Regions from separate parts of the Homo sapiens genome. Here regions 1 and 3 are each linked to region 2. The links are contacts of gene promoters, found by promoter capture Hi-C in human tissues and cell types (Jung and others, 2019). All regions are on one chromosome and are shown on one strand. The core of a region is centred on a gene start or on the middle of the fragment in contact, and the rest is flanking DNA. Distances in the headings are between cores, read along the strand shown.

Region 1 (4,077 bases), core at 829-3,328, 1.2 Mb before region 2:
TATTAAATCTTTCCTTTCAAAATATAGCCCTGTAAATCTTCTGAGTTTTGTGACCTTAGTGACAGTAGACTTTTAGCCTTTGATTACTTTGTGAAATAAAATAATGAATTAAAAAAGATAATTTTTTTGTAGTAAAATATGCCATGGTACAATCACAAATAGAATTTTATGTGATTGGTCATATATATACACATATATATACACATATATATATACACACACATATATATACATATAGATATATATATATGTAGTACTGTTTGGTTTATATACAACAGTTGCCAGTTTGTTCCCCAGGAAACAAGATTAATATTCAGGAAGTTTGTAAGTGGGAACTCTTGGGATTTACACCTGTAGGGAAAGGGATGGAAGCAAGATTGGACAAAAGGAGAAGTTGGATCGTGACGCAGTCAGAAGAAAGGCCTCAACCAGCTGCATGGGAAGGCTGTTTGGAGTTGTTCCAGGTTGAAGTAAGGAGGCTGAGCCTTTGTACTCCAGTATTGACCAGTCATTTGATGCAAATTGCCCCTAGGAGATAGTGTGATCCTGGGCAAGGTAATCTGTACAATTGAGGGTAATTCCCAGAGAGGACTAGATAGCTGAGGGATGACAGCAGTTGAGAAATAAATTCTCCAAACTTAATTGTATCTTGGGAAAATCAGATTTAACTTATAAATTTTAGTTTTACATCTTACTTTTTAGGAATATTACCCATGGTAAGTGCAATATTGTACCCATATGTGTTCTCAAGGCTCTAGGGTTGGAGTATTAAAGATGATTTATTCTAGCTCAGGATAAAGAATGCTCTTTTAAGATTAATATGGAAGCTCCACTTGAGACTCCTCCCACCTCCAAAAATATTAAGTTAATTCTGTTTCAGTCACTTATTTGTAACAGCATCCTGTGTATGCCGAATACTAAAGAGGAATAGTGAGCTGTTATTCAGTTTTTTAGTTTTTAATTCAATTTGATCATGGGAATATTCATTTCAGTACAGCTCCATGATTATCTCTAATTTTTTAAGGATTCTGATGTAATGCATAATTCTTGATTCCCTTGTCCTGTCTCATAAAATAACTGGCTTTTATTTAAAAAGTCTCCCCACCCCCCGCATCATTCTTTTTCTTGGAATGAGAGCTCAGAAAGCACAGAGTCTGTCTTGGTTGTTATCCATGCCTCCTTGCCTCTTGGATAGACTGCTAAAATTTATTTTCTTTTGGCCTTTCCCTGAAAGTCATCCAGAAGCAACAGTATTTATAGAACAGAGCAGCTCTACTACTGAACATGGCAGGGGGTGGTGGCGGGAGGGTATCCTCTGGAGTGTGTATTTACTGCAAGAACAGCAGTCAGATGGATTGAATTTAGATTTTACTGATTTAATACTTAGAATAATCTGAACTTTAAATCTATGAACAGTTAGTAAGAATCTGGGGTCAGCAAGATGATAGCTTTAGGAGCATTGATTTTTATGAAATTAGATTATAATGAACACACTATGTGATGGTCCCACACATCTTATATAGTAGAATTAGAATTTTTGGAGTGAAAATCTACAAGGCTAAAAAAATTAGTAACAGTTTAAGCACCATTTTACTCAGCTACCAGGGGCATTGTGACTAACTTCTTGGTTCAAGTGTTTCTGGTCTTGGTTGGATTCAAATATCATTGGTAGATTTTGGTAGAATTCTATATTAAATATTTTCTTTTCCTTCCCATTGTTCTTTTTCTTTGACTATTTTAAGACATTGTCGGAATGAAAATGTTATAGATAGTACTTTTATAAGACCTGCCAACATTTTTTTACCATTACCATTAGTAAATAACTTAAAATATTTTATATAGGATTCTCTGAAGCATAATTTTTACTTCTACCTTTATCTAAAACTAAAGTTATTACATTCCTTTGTCCCTTAGGAGGTTGCATTTATCAGGTTAGGTGTGTTTGCTTCAGGTTAGTTTTAAAAACAAGTTTCTCTGAGATCTGATGCAATGATTGGTTTTAAACCCAGAACAAATGGATTTTTGTTTTGGGGGTTTTATTCAATGACTTTGTACCTATGGTACCAAAAGAGATTTTTTTTTTTGTTTTATTTAATGATTATAAAGTTCAAAAACAGAACCAGAAACTTATCTCTTAGCATTTGATTATATAGAAATAAATGCTCATTTCCTGGAACTATAGATGTATTAAATCTGTAAAGTGCTGAAAAGCATGTACTCAAGTGAAACAATTGGCAGGCAAAGACACATTTTACTTTGTAAAATAAGAGCTTATATAGGATGTTTTATAGTTTGTATTCGAGCTAATTTTACATAAAAATGTGACCATCTATAAAAGATATACTAAATAGGGTCCTTATAACAGGGTTCCTAGTCCCTTAGAAATTCTGTTCCAAATAATTTATTGAATATTGCTCCTTGTTCAGTTAATTTTTTTTTTTTTTTTTGAAACAGAGTCTCACTCTGTTGCCCAGGCTGGAGTGCAATGGCATGATCTCCGCTCACTGAAACCTCCGCCTCCCAGGTTCAAGTGATTCTCTTGCCTCAGCCTCCCAAGTAACTGAGATTACAGGCATGTGCCACCATGACTGGCTAATTTTTTGTGTTTTTAGTAGAGATGGGGTTTCACCATGTTGGCCAAGCTGATCTCAAACTCCTGACCTCAGGTGATCTGCCTGCCTTGGCCTCCCAAAGTGCTTGGATTACAGGTGTGAGCCACTGTGCCCAGCCTGTTCAGTTAATATTGAGAAGTATTTTCTAAGTTTGCCCACTTGCAAAATCATTTGTGAATACTATGCTTCAGCTTATGAGTAGTTTGGTTTTTTATTACTTGATTAGCATAATTCTATGGAATTATTAAGACATATTATTGTCCCTAATCTTGGTATTGTCTGTATACTCCAGATGAGTGATCTGGAGTATATAATTAACAAATGATAGATCTCCTGATTGCAGTGGTCTTTCTGCCACATCATACTGTTTACCGTGGATGACATCATACTGTTTACTGTGGATGATCAGTTGTTTTGGTTTCAGTACAAGTTAAGTAGTTCCTCTCTGCCTGGGCCTTGAGCAAGCAAAACCTCTTTTAAAAGGAAAGAAATAAGTGGTGTTAGGTTATAAATGATGCAGATCTTCATTAGTCTGGCAAGATCTATAACCTCGTAAGTTGATCTGATTTGAGCATCATATCTATAATAAGTAGCCTGTAAGAAATTCAATCAGGCAGGCCAGGCGCAGTGACTCAAGCCTGTAATCCCAGCACTTTGGGAGGCTGAGGCGGGCAGATCACGAGGTCAGGAGATCGAGACCATCCTGGCTAACACGATGAAACCCCGTCTCTACTAAAACTACCAAAAATTAGCTGGGCGCAGTGACGGGCGCCTGTAGTCCCAGCTACTCAGGAGGCTGAGGCAGAAGAATGGCATGAACCCAGGAGGCGGAGCTTACAGTGAGCCGAGATTGCGCCACTGCACTCCAGCCTGGGCGACAGAGCAAGGCTCTGTCCCAAAAAAAAAAAAAAAAAAAAGAAAGAAATTCATTCAGGATTCCATAGTCAATAACTTAACAAAAGGCAGCAGGAAAGCTTTACTGATGATAGTGTTACCAGCGCTGTGTTTCAAAACTCCAGGGGGCATACTCATATTGTATTCTTTATGTTATCCTCTGGTGTTGTGCAACATGATGATACTCCATGATATTTTAAGAATATTGAAAGAGAGTTGTTTAATGAAAGAGCTCTGAAGATTGAGCTCTTTTATTCTGGCTAACTCTGATAATCAGTAAGTCATTTTCCCAGAGAGAATCTTTTCGTCTTAAAAGGCTGAGGTCAACTGTCACAGCTGCAGTTTCTCCAGGGAAAAATAGTCCTTGTACTTAGCCAAAAACCTTTCAATCAATATTTGAAGAGAGAGCCATATCCTGCAGTCAAATTGAGGGTAGTTTTGCCCCCTTCAAACACAGAGCAGTTGGCTTTTTAGATGGATGAACTGCGTTTGGCCAGGTGACAGGAGTTCAGGACACTAGAGTCCTTATCAAATCTTCATGTGATTTTTGTGCTTCAGTTTTTCTAAATTC
Region 2 (3,792 bases), core at 847-3,346:
TTCCGTGGAGTTCAAACTACTTTCGAGATATTACTTCATTAATTCCCCAAATATCCCTATGAAGGAAAGGACACATCACCATTCTTTTTTCAGATGGCCAAATGGAGGTGGTATAAGGGAGAGAGAACTGTGTTTATTCCATGAAAGCAACAATTAAGTCTAAGCACACTGTCCCCTTGTACTATGTAGTTAGCAAAATTTAAGCGAAATTTTTAATCTTTATGCTCCTTAATGAAAAAGACATTGTAAGAGTAAAAAGCATTATCATTCAGGTAGCTATGTCATATTACAGAAATATATTAAAATGATTAATTTATTGCATTCTTGCCTGGAAGAATTCCTGCTTCATGTATGAGGTGCTTATTAAAGAGGCTGGTGTCGGTCCTCAGACACACTCAAAAAAGTGCTAATTAAGTCTATTTTATCAAGAAAGAAATCTTGTTGATTTTTTCAATATTATTTTTTGAATTTTCGAAGAAAAAATCTTCACTTTGAAAAACCAAACACACAAAAAATGAAAGAGAGGAAGAAAAATGGGGTAATAAAATACCATTGACAAAACTAAGAGCAAACCCTAGGGAAACTGGTAAATTGTTGATGGTTCCAGAGAGATAAAGTACAACATAACACGTACACAATTACGAGATAATTTTTCATTACAATAATTAAAATGACTATTCTCCTAAATTTTTGATTCTTTATGAGAAAAAACTTACTCAAATATTCCGGGAAACCTAACAGCTCGCCTCCTCGATTCTACTTATTAAATAAATATTTAGAGTTTCTGCCATTGTCACCAAAGTATCTTTGGGCTGCCAGTGGCACTACATTTATACAAGAGACGAAAGTCTGACAGATAAAAGACAACGGAATTTTACTTCTTTCTACGACTCAAATGATACCACTCATTTGAAACTGAAGTGTTTATGATCTTTCAAGTATCACTTTTAGGGGTACTATAACAGGAGTCTGAAAGGAATTGACTCTATTTTTTAAGAAAGGTTTTAACAATTAATGAGTATATAAAAATACAATGAGCATCAGACCGTCCATCTTTGAGAGCTAAATTTTGTTTGAGACTAAGAGACCAACTGGACCAAGGACAACTCTAGTCAGACAAGTTCTAATCACAGATTCCACAAGGATTGACTGCTTAGTTTTGATATAATCACTTTGCCTCTTGGGTGCCTCAGCTGTCTGGTCTATAAAATGGGATAATAGTAACCCGACCGCATAATGCTCCTTTGAAGTTAACTAATGAATGCTCTCACAGATACACTTACAACTGTTAGATGCTACGAAAATAATGAGCACTATCTCGAAAAAAAACAAGGTGGAATATATGTGTTAGTGTTCATAACAGCACTAGTAATTTCCCACCAAAGGACCATCTCCCCACCTCCGCCCGATGGATTTCAGAGCTTATGACCTCTGCCTAGCAGAAAGTCGTACACTCCGGACCCAAGGCTGCAACAAAAGCGACTGCGACGCCGATACTGAAATGGGCTAGACAAAGGAAAGTGGAACCGTGCAGAGGGAATCGGCCGTGGAAGGGGCTGTGTGGTCCCCACAAGCTCCGAAATTAAACAAGACGCAGTTCCCCACCTCAGACCTGGAGAGGGTTCAGTACTGGACCCCTGGCACCCACCCCACCTTCCCCGGCCTCCTCCGCCACACCTACAGCGCCTCGCCTCCAGGACTCAGCTTTTTCGACCCTGTGTAATTCCAACCTCCAGGTGGGCGCGCCCCGAGGCCGCTCCGAGAGCCTCAGGTGCGAAAGTTAAGCCGCGGCCGCGTCACCTGAGGCCCGCCGGGCGAGAGGCGGCCAGGCCAGCGGCAACCCTAGCCCAGCCCCTTGGCACGTCCCCGCCTGGGCCAACGTGGGGGCCCGGGCCACCGCGGCTGGGTAGGGCCCGGCCGAGGCCAGGTCCCTCCGAGAGGCGCCGCCGCCGCGCCCCGCCCGACTCCGACCCGCCGGCCTTTACCTGTATCCACGTCCCGGAGCCTCCGGCTTCGCGCCCCGTCCCGGCGCTCCCGGCCGCCAGCAGCCAGGCTCTGAGGACTCGCTGCGGCTCCGGCGGCGGCGATGCCGGTTCGGCGAGACGGGAAGCGACAGGAGCCAAACCCCGCGGAAAGCGCTCGAGCTGTGCCTGCAGCCCCGACCCCGCGGCCTCGGACGTGGCGCCCCGGCGCTCGCCCGCCACAGCCAGCGGCCCTGCTCGCCCCACGTCTGCGGGTTCCCACCCGAGCCGCGCGTGGGCGGCGCCGGGCTTTGACCCCGCGCAGGCAGACAAGCGCCGCGGGCCAGACGGAACCGTGGGAAAGTTTTTCTCCCTTGTCATCCCCTTACCAGAGCCACAGAAATTATCCCTGTGGTCTCCCTTGTCCTCACTCGGCCTTTTCTGGAGTTAAGAGATCCAAGCCAACTACTGGGTCTGTTCCCTGCTAAAATCTTAGGCCGGCGTCCCATCCACCCATCCCCATGCCTAGGACTTTTAAGCTGGCAACGCTACCTGGGTTTAGTTTTCCCTTCGTATATCACTATCTTCGTTGCTTACCTTCTTGTGCCTAAAGTTCCACCGATGTGCAAGGAGATTAACCACTAAAGTGCACCTGACACTACTCTTGACAAATTGCAGTTGGGAGGTGAGTTGATGACTGGCGGTAAATCAAAAGTGCTTATTTAGGGAGTGAGGGGGCCGCGTGCAGTAAATGTTGACTTGCAGGTGCCTCATAGATGATCAAACGACTATAAATAAGATTCGGAATATAAAAAGCAAGTTTTATTAGTTGGCTTGAGGAGAGGGAAGGGAGCTAGGAGGGAACCTCAAAAAAAATATACAGCTTTGTTTCTCTGCTAGATACAGAAATTTTTATTTGCCTGAAGTGGCTTACTTGGAAACTTGTCCTAAGATTAGGGCTGTATGCAGTGACTTCCCATCTGGAAATACAAGGAAATAAAGAACAAAATGAAAGACATCACGAGAAAACTACAGACCAATATACCTTATGCATAGTAACATAAAAATCCTCAACAAAATACTAGCAAGCCAAACCCAGCAACATTTTAAAAAATTATACAACATGACCAAGTAGGATTTATCTCAGGAATGCAAGTTTGGTGTGACATACAAAATTAATGTAACACACTACTTTAAATAGACTAAATGTAAAAACCACATGATCATCTCAAAAGATGAAGGAAAAGCAATTGACAAAATCTAACACCCTTTCTTGATATAAACACTTCAACTAGGAATAAAAGGAAACTTCTTCAACCTAATAAAGAGCCTCTGAAAAATCCATAATTAACATCATACTTAATCTTGAAAGAATGAACATTTTCACCTAAAATCAGGAATAAGACAAGGATGTCAATTGTTGCTACTTCTATTCAACATTATAGTGGAGGCACTAGCCAGGGCAGTTAGGCAAGGAAAGGTGGAATATCTAACAGCTAGTAGAACAAAGAGAAGAAAGATAATTACCAAAGAAAACGAGGACAACAGTTCTCAGAGCTAAAGGACAGAAGCACATGAGCTCTCAGTTTAATGGATAAAAATTTTCTATAACCAAGTTGTGAAATTTCAAACCACATGAGTCAGAGAGATCTTAACTTTCATGGAGGAAAAAATAGGAGGTGATTTATGAAGATTTAGAAATCAGAATGGCATTGGATTCTCAACAGAAACATAAATAAAAGATAAATTCTGAGAAAAAAATGATTTCCAATTTTGAAATTGATGAAGTATGAGGTTTAAAAAGACATTTTCAAATATACAAAGGTTTAAA
Region 3 (4,237 bases), core at 881-3,380, 1.7 Mb after region 2:
CTTACATTTTAAACTATATGATATGTGTTGGCTGGGTGCAGTGGCTCATGCCTGTAATCCCAATACTTTAGAAGGCCGAGGCAGGTGGATCACCTGAGGTCAGGAGTTTGAGATCAGCCTGACCAACATACTCTACTAAAAATACAAAATTAGCCAGGCATGGTGGCGCACGTCTGTAATCCCAGCTACTCAGGAGGCTGAGGCAGAAGAATCACTTGAACCCAGAAGGCGGAGGTCGCAGTGAGCCGAGATGGTGCCACTGCACTCCAGCTTGGTCAATAAGAGTGAAACTCTCTCTCAAAGAAAAAAAAAAAAAAACTAGGCAGGCGTGGGCATGGTAGTGCATGCCTGTAATCCCAGCTACTCGGAAAGCTGCAGCAGGAGAATCACTCGAACTTGGGAGGCAGAGGTTGCGGTGAGACGAGATTGCACCATTGCACTTTAGCCTGGGCTACGAGTGAAATTCTGTCTCAGAAATAAATAAATAAATAATGGCTAGTTGGAGAGTTGGAAATAAAATAATTAGATAGTTGGAGAGTTGGAGGAGGGGTTACACATAAGTTAATAAGGGGAAAGAATTAAGATTTTGGGCTTTTCCAACTGATTGGTGCCTGCATGGCTCATAGGAGGAAAACAATGTCAGGAAGGTTGAAATACACAACGTTTTTGACATGAATGTCAAGTATTTTAAGACAACTACATATGTCAGCGTTGAAGAGAGACCTGTGCTAAAAAGCCAGATTTGGGAGTCATCAAAATAGAGGCAATAGTTGAAGTCACAAATGAGACCATTCATGAAGAGTGTGCATTGAAGTCCTTATTTCCTAAACTACGTAGTTTGGATTTTTATCTGAAGGTTTTCAGAAGAGAGCAGGGTAGTGCCTCAGAGTCAAACATCTAAAGTGGTCAGAGAAAAGAGAAAAATAACCAACAAAAGACTGGCTAAAACCTAAGAAGGAAATAAGGAAAATATGGTGTCCCAGAAGTATAAGAAGAAAATTTCAAGAACGAACAAGTAGTTAAAATGGCAAATGATTAAACAGATTCCATTAGATTTAGCAACAAAGATATCAATGGTGATCACCACTACATCAAATTCAGTGACTGCTATGGACTGTCAGCCTTCAAAATACCAAAAAAAAAAAAAAAAAAAAAAAAAATTAACCAATAAGGAGGTGAAGAAAATGAATATAGAGAATTCTTTCAAGAAACTTAAAGGAAATAAGCTGGGCATGGTGGCACACACAAGTAGTACCAGCTACTCATGAGATTGAAGTGGCAGGATCACTTGAGCCCTGAAGTTTGAGGCCAGCCTAGGTAACAAGAGACCTTGTCTCTTAAAAAAAGGAGAAAAAAAAAAACTAAGAAAAATAATTATAGATAAAGCTGAAGAGGAATCTAAGAATCTAAGGTAAGGAGCGTATATTTCAGATAAGACTTGATTTGAGGCCAGGCACGGTGGCTCACCCATATAATTCCAATACACTTCAGGAGGCCAAGGCCAGTGGATCGCTTGAACCCAGGAGTTTGAGACAAGCCTGGGCAATGTGGCAAAACCCCATCTCTACAAAAAAAAATTCAAAAATTAGCCAAGCATGGTGGCCTGCGCCTCACCTGTGGTCCCAGCCACCAGAGAGGCTGAGGTGGAGGGATCGCTTGAGCCTGGGAGGCAGAAGTTGCAGTGAGCCAAGATAGCACCACTGCACTCAAGCCTGAGAAACAGAGTGAGTACTCTGTCTCAAAAAAAAAAAATAAAAAAAAAAAAAGATAATAAGAGACTTGGGTATGCTTAAATCCTTGTTAAGTTAGTACTAGTTGAAAAAGGAGTAACTGAATGTTATGGATTGAACTGTGTTCCTTAAAAATTCATGTTGAAGCCCTAACCCCCGAACCCTCAGTATTTGGAGATAAAGTTTTTAAGGTGATTAAGATAAGATGAGGTTGTTAGGGTAAGGCCCTAAACCAATATAACTGATGCCATTATAAGAAAAAGAAACAGCAGGCCAGTGCAGTGGCTCACGCCTGTAATCCCAGCACTTTGGGAGGCTGAGGCGGGCAGATCACCTGAGGTCAGGAGTTTGAGACCAGCCTGGACAACATGGTGAAACCCGTCTCTACTAAAAATATAAAAATTAGCCGGGCGTGGTGGTGAGCGCCTGTAATCCCAACTACTCAGGAGGCTGAGGCAGGAGAATCGCTTGAACCGGGAAGGCGGAGGTTGCAGTGACCTGAGAGCGGGCCACTGCACTCCAGCCTGGGAGACAAGAGCGAGGCTCCGTCTCAAAAAAAAAAAAAAAAAGAAAAGAAAAAAAAAGAAAACAGAAAGATACAGCAGAGGTGCATGTACACACAGGATGACCACGAGAAAAGGCAGCAAGAAGGTGGCCATCTGCAAGCCAAGGATGGAGGTCTTACAGGAAACCAATCTTATCTGCACCTTGATCTTAGACTTCCACTCTCCAGAACTGTGAGAAAAAAAATTCTCTTGTTTAAGCTACCCAATATAAGGTATTTTGTTGTGGCGGCCCTAGCAAACACATGAAGGAAATATTGCCCGTAAGGAGAAAAAACTCAGAATATCATTAGAGATGGACAGATAGAGGTCTTCATGTTTGCAGGTGAAACAGAACAGAAAGCAATGAAGTTCCCACTCAATGTATTTCATTTCCTCTATGAAGCAGAAGGGAACTTTATCCAGTAAAGAGTAAAGAGGGGGCCGGGCGTGGTGGCTCAAGCCTGTAATCCCAGCACTTTGGGAGGCTGAGGCAGGGGGATCACCTGAGGTCGAGAGTTCGAGACCAGCCTGACAAACATGGAGAAACCCCGTCTCTACTAAAAATACAAAATTAGCTGGGCATGGCGGTGCATGCCGGTAATCCCAGCTACTCAGGAGGCTGAGGCAGGAGAATCACTTGAACCCAGGAGGCGGAGGTTGCAGTGAATTGAGATCGCGCCACTGCACTCCAGCCTGGGCAAAAAGAGCAGAACTCCATCTCAAAAAAAAAAAAAAAAAAAAAGTAAAGACGGGGCCGGGCTCACTCCTGTAATCCCAGCACTTTGGGAGGCCAAGGTGGGTGGAGTTCAGGGAGGTCAGGAGTTCAAGACCAGTCTGGCCAAAATGGTGAAACCCTGTCTACTAAAAATACAAAAATTAGCCAGGCTTGGTGGCAGGCACCTGTAATCCTAGCTACTCTGGAGGCTGAGGCAGGAGAACCGCTTGAACCCGGGAGGCGGAAGATGCAGTGAGCAGAGATCACGCCACTGCACTCCAGCCTAGGTGACAGTGAGACCCCGCCTCAAAAAAAATAAAGAGGAAAGGTGGTGGGTTAATAGCCACCATGATAAACAGGAGCAGTTAGCAGGGACACACAGGATTGTTAGGCTGCCTGTACAGTACCCAATAGACGTTTGTTATTGAATGAACACCTAATTGTCATTCATGAATTTTAGTCCGTTTTTAATATAACAAGCTCTGACAGTAACCAGCAAAAGAAAAGCACTGGAATGAGTTGGAATCTGGGTTATAAATCTAGGTATGTGTGACCTTATGCAAGGCACTTACCTTTCTGGGCCTCAGTTTCATCAGACTGGATAATCAGCATAAGATCACCTCAGATTAAAATAAATGATGCTATAAATTTTTATACCGGTTTGTGCATTACCTCAGTGTTCTTCAACTGTTACCAACCAAAGTAGTGCATCTCAAGATTTATTGAACATTCCTTTCATCTAGATAACTTGTTAAAATTGCAGATTTTGATTCAGCAGCTCTGGATTGAGCCTGAGATCATGCATTTCTAATAAACTCCCAGGTGATGCTATATACCACAATTTGAGTAGCAAGGGTAAAGAACACTGATGCAACTTAAGCTCTACAAAGCTTATAACTGTGGACTTATCTGTAATAAGTCTGATAGTCAGCAAACCAAACACACTACAGACTCACACCAGCACTAAATGTGTTTTGCCATTCCTTAAACGCTCTGAAATTAACAGTCCCTATTTGAAGCTGATAAAGAAAGGAAAAAATATTACCATCAATAACACTAAATTAGAAGTGAGGTTACATACATACACACACACAGGTACAAATATATAACACAAAGGTCAAAATCCAAATAATCAAACATTACCTTACCCAAAATTTGAATATTTTTATTGCTGAGAAAAAAAAATTTTGTTTCTGGAAAAATCTTCAGTGTATTTTAATAGCCACATGCCTACAAGGATCATGCTG

The links. The method cuts DNA at HindIII sites, captures the fragments that hold promoters and counts their contacts. A contact is called where the count stands out against the background at its distance.
Region 1: a contact is called between a fragment that was not itself captured here and the fragment with the promoter of RNF180 in region 2, in 1 of the 25 tissues and cell types used here (hippocampus).
Region 3: a fragment that was not itself captured here is called in contact with the fragment with the promoter of RNF180 in region 2 in 1 of the 25 tissues and cell types used here (dorsolateral prefrontal cortex).

The regions. Positions count from the first base shown.
Region 1 is chr5:65,364,017-65,368,093 of GRCh38, reverse strand. The region is part of intron 7 of ADAMTS6 (ADAM metallopeptidase with thrombospondin type 1 motif 6); the gene reads left to right. Among named protein-coding and RNA genes, the nearest start is that of ADAMTS6, 120 kb to the left of the region's middle. The HindIII fragment of the contact is 4,500 bases long and covers 1-4,077 here.
Region 2 is chr5:64,164,147-64,167,938 of GRCh38, reverse strand. It overlaps RNF180 (ring finger protein 180), which reads right to left and starts at 2,096. Exons shown (of 8, transcript NM_001113561.2): 1 at 1,986-2,096. The HindIII fragment of the contact is 11,374 bases long and covers 1-3,792 here.
Region 3 is chr5:62,414,245-62,418,481 of GRCh38, reverse strand. All of the region lies in intron 1 of IPO11 (importin 11), which reads right to left. Among named protein-coding and RNA genes, the nearest start is that of IPO11, 3.6 kb to the right of the region's middle. The HindIII fragment of the contact is 5,612 bases long and covers 1-4,237 here.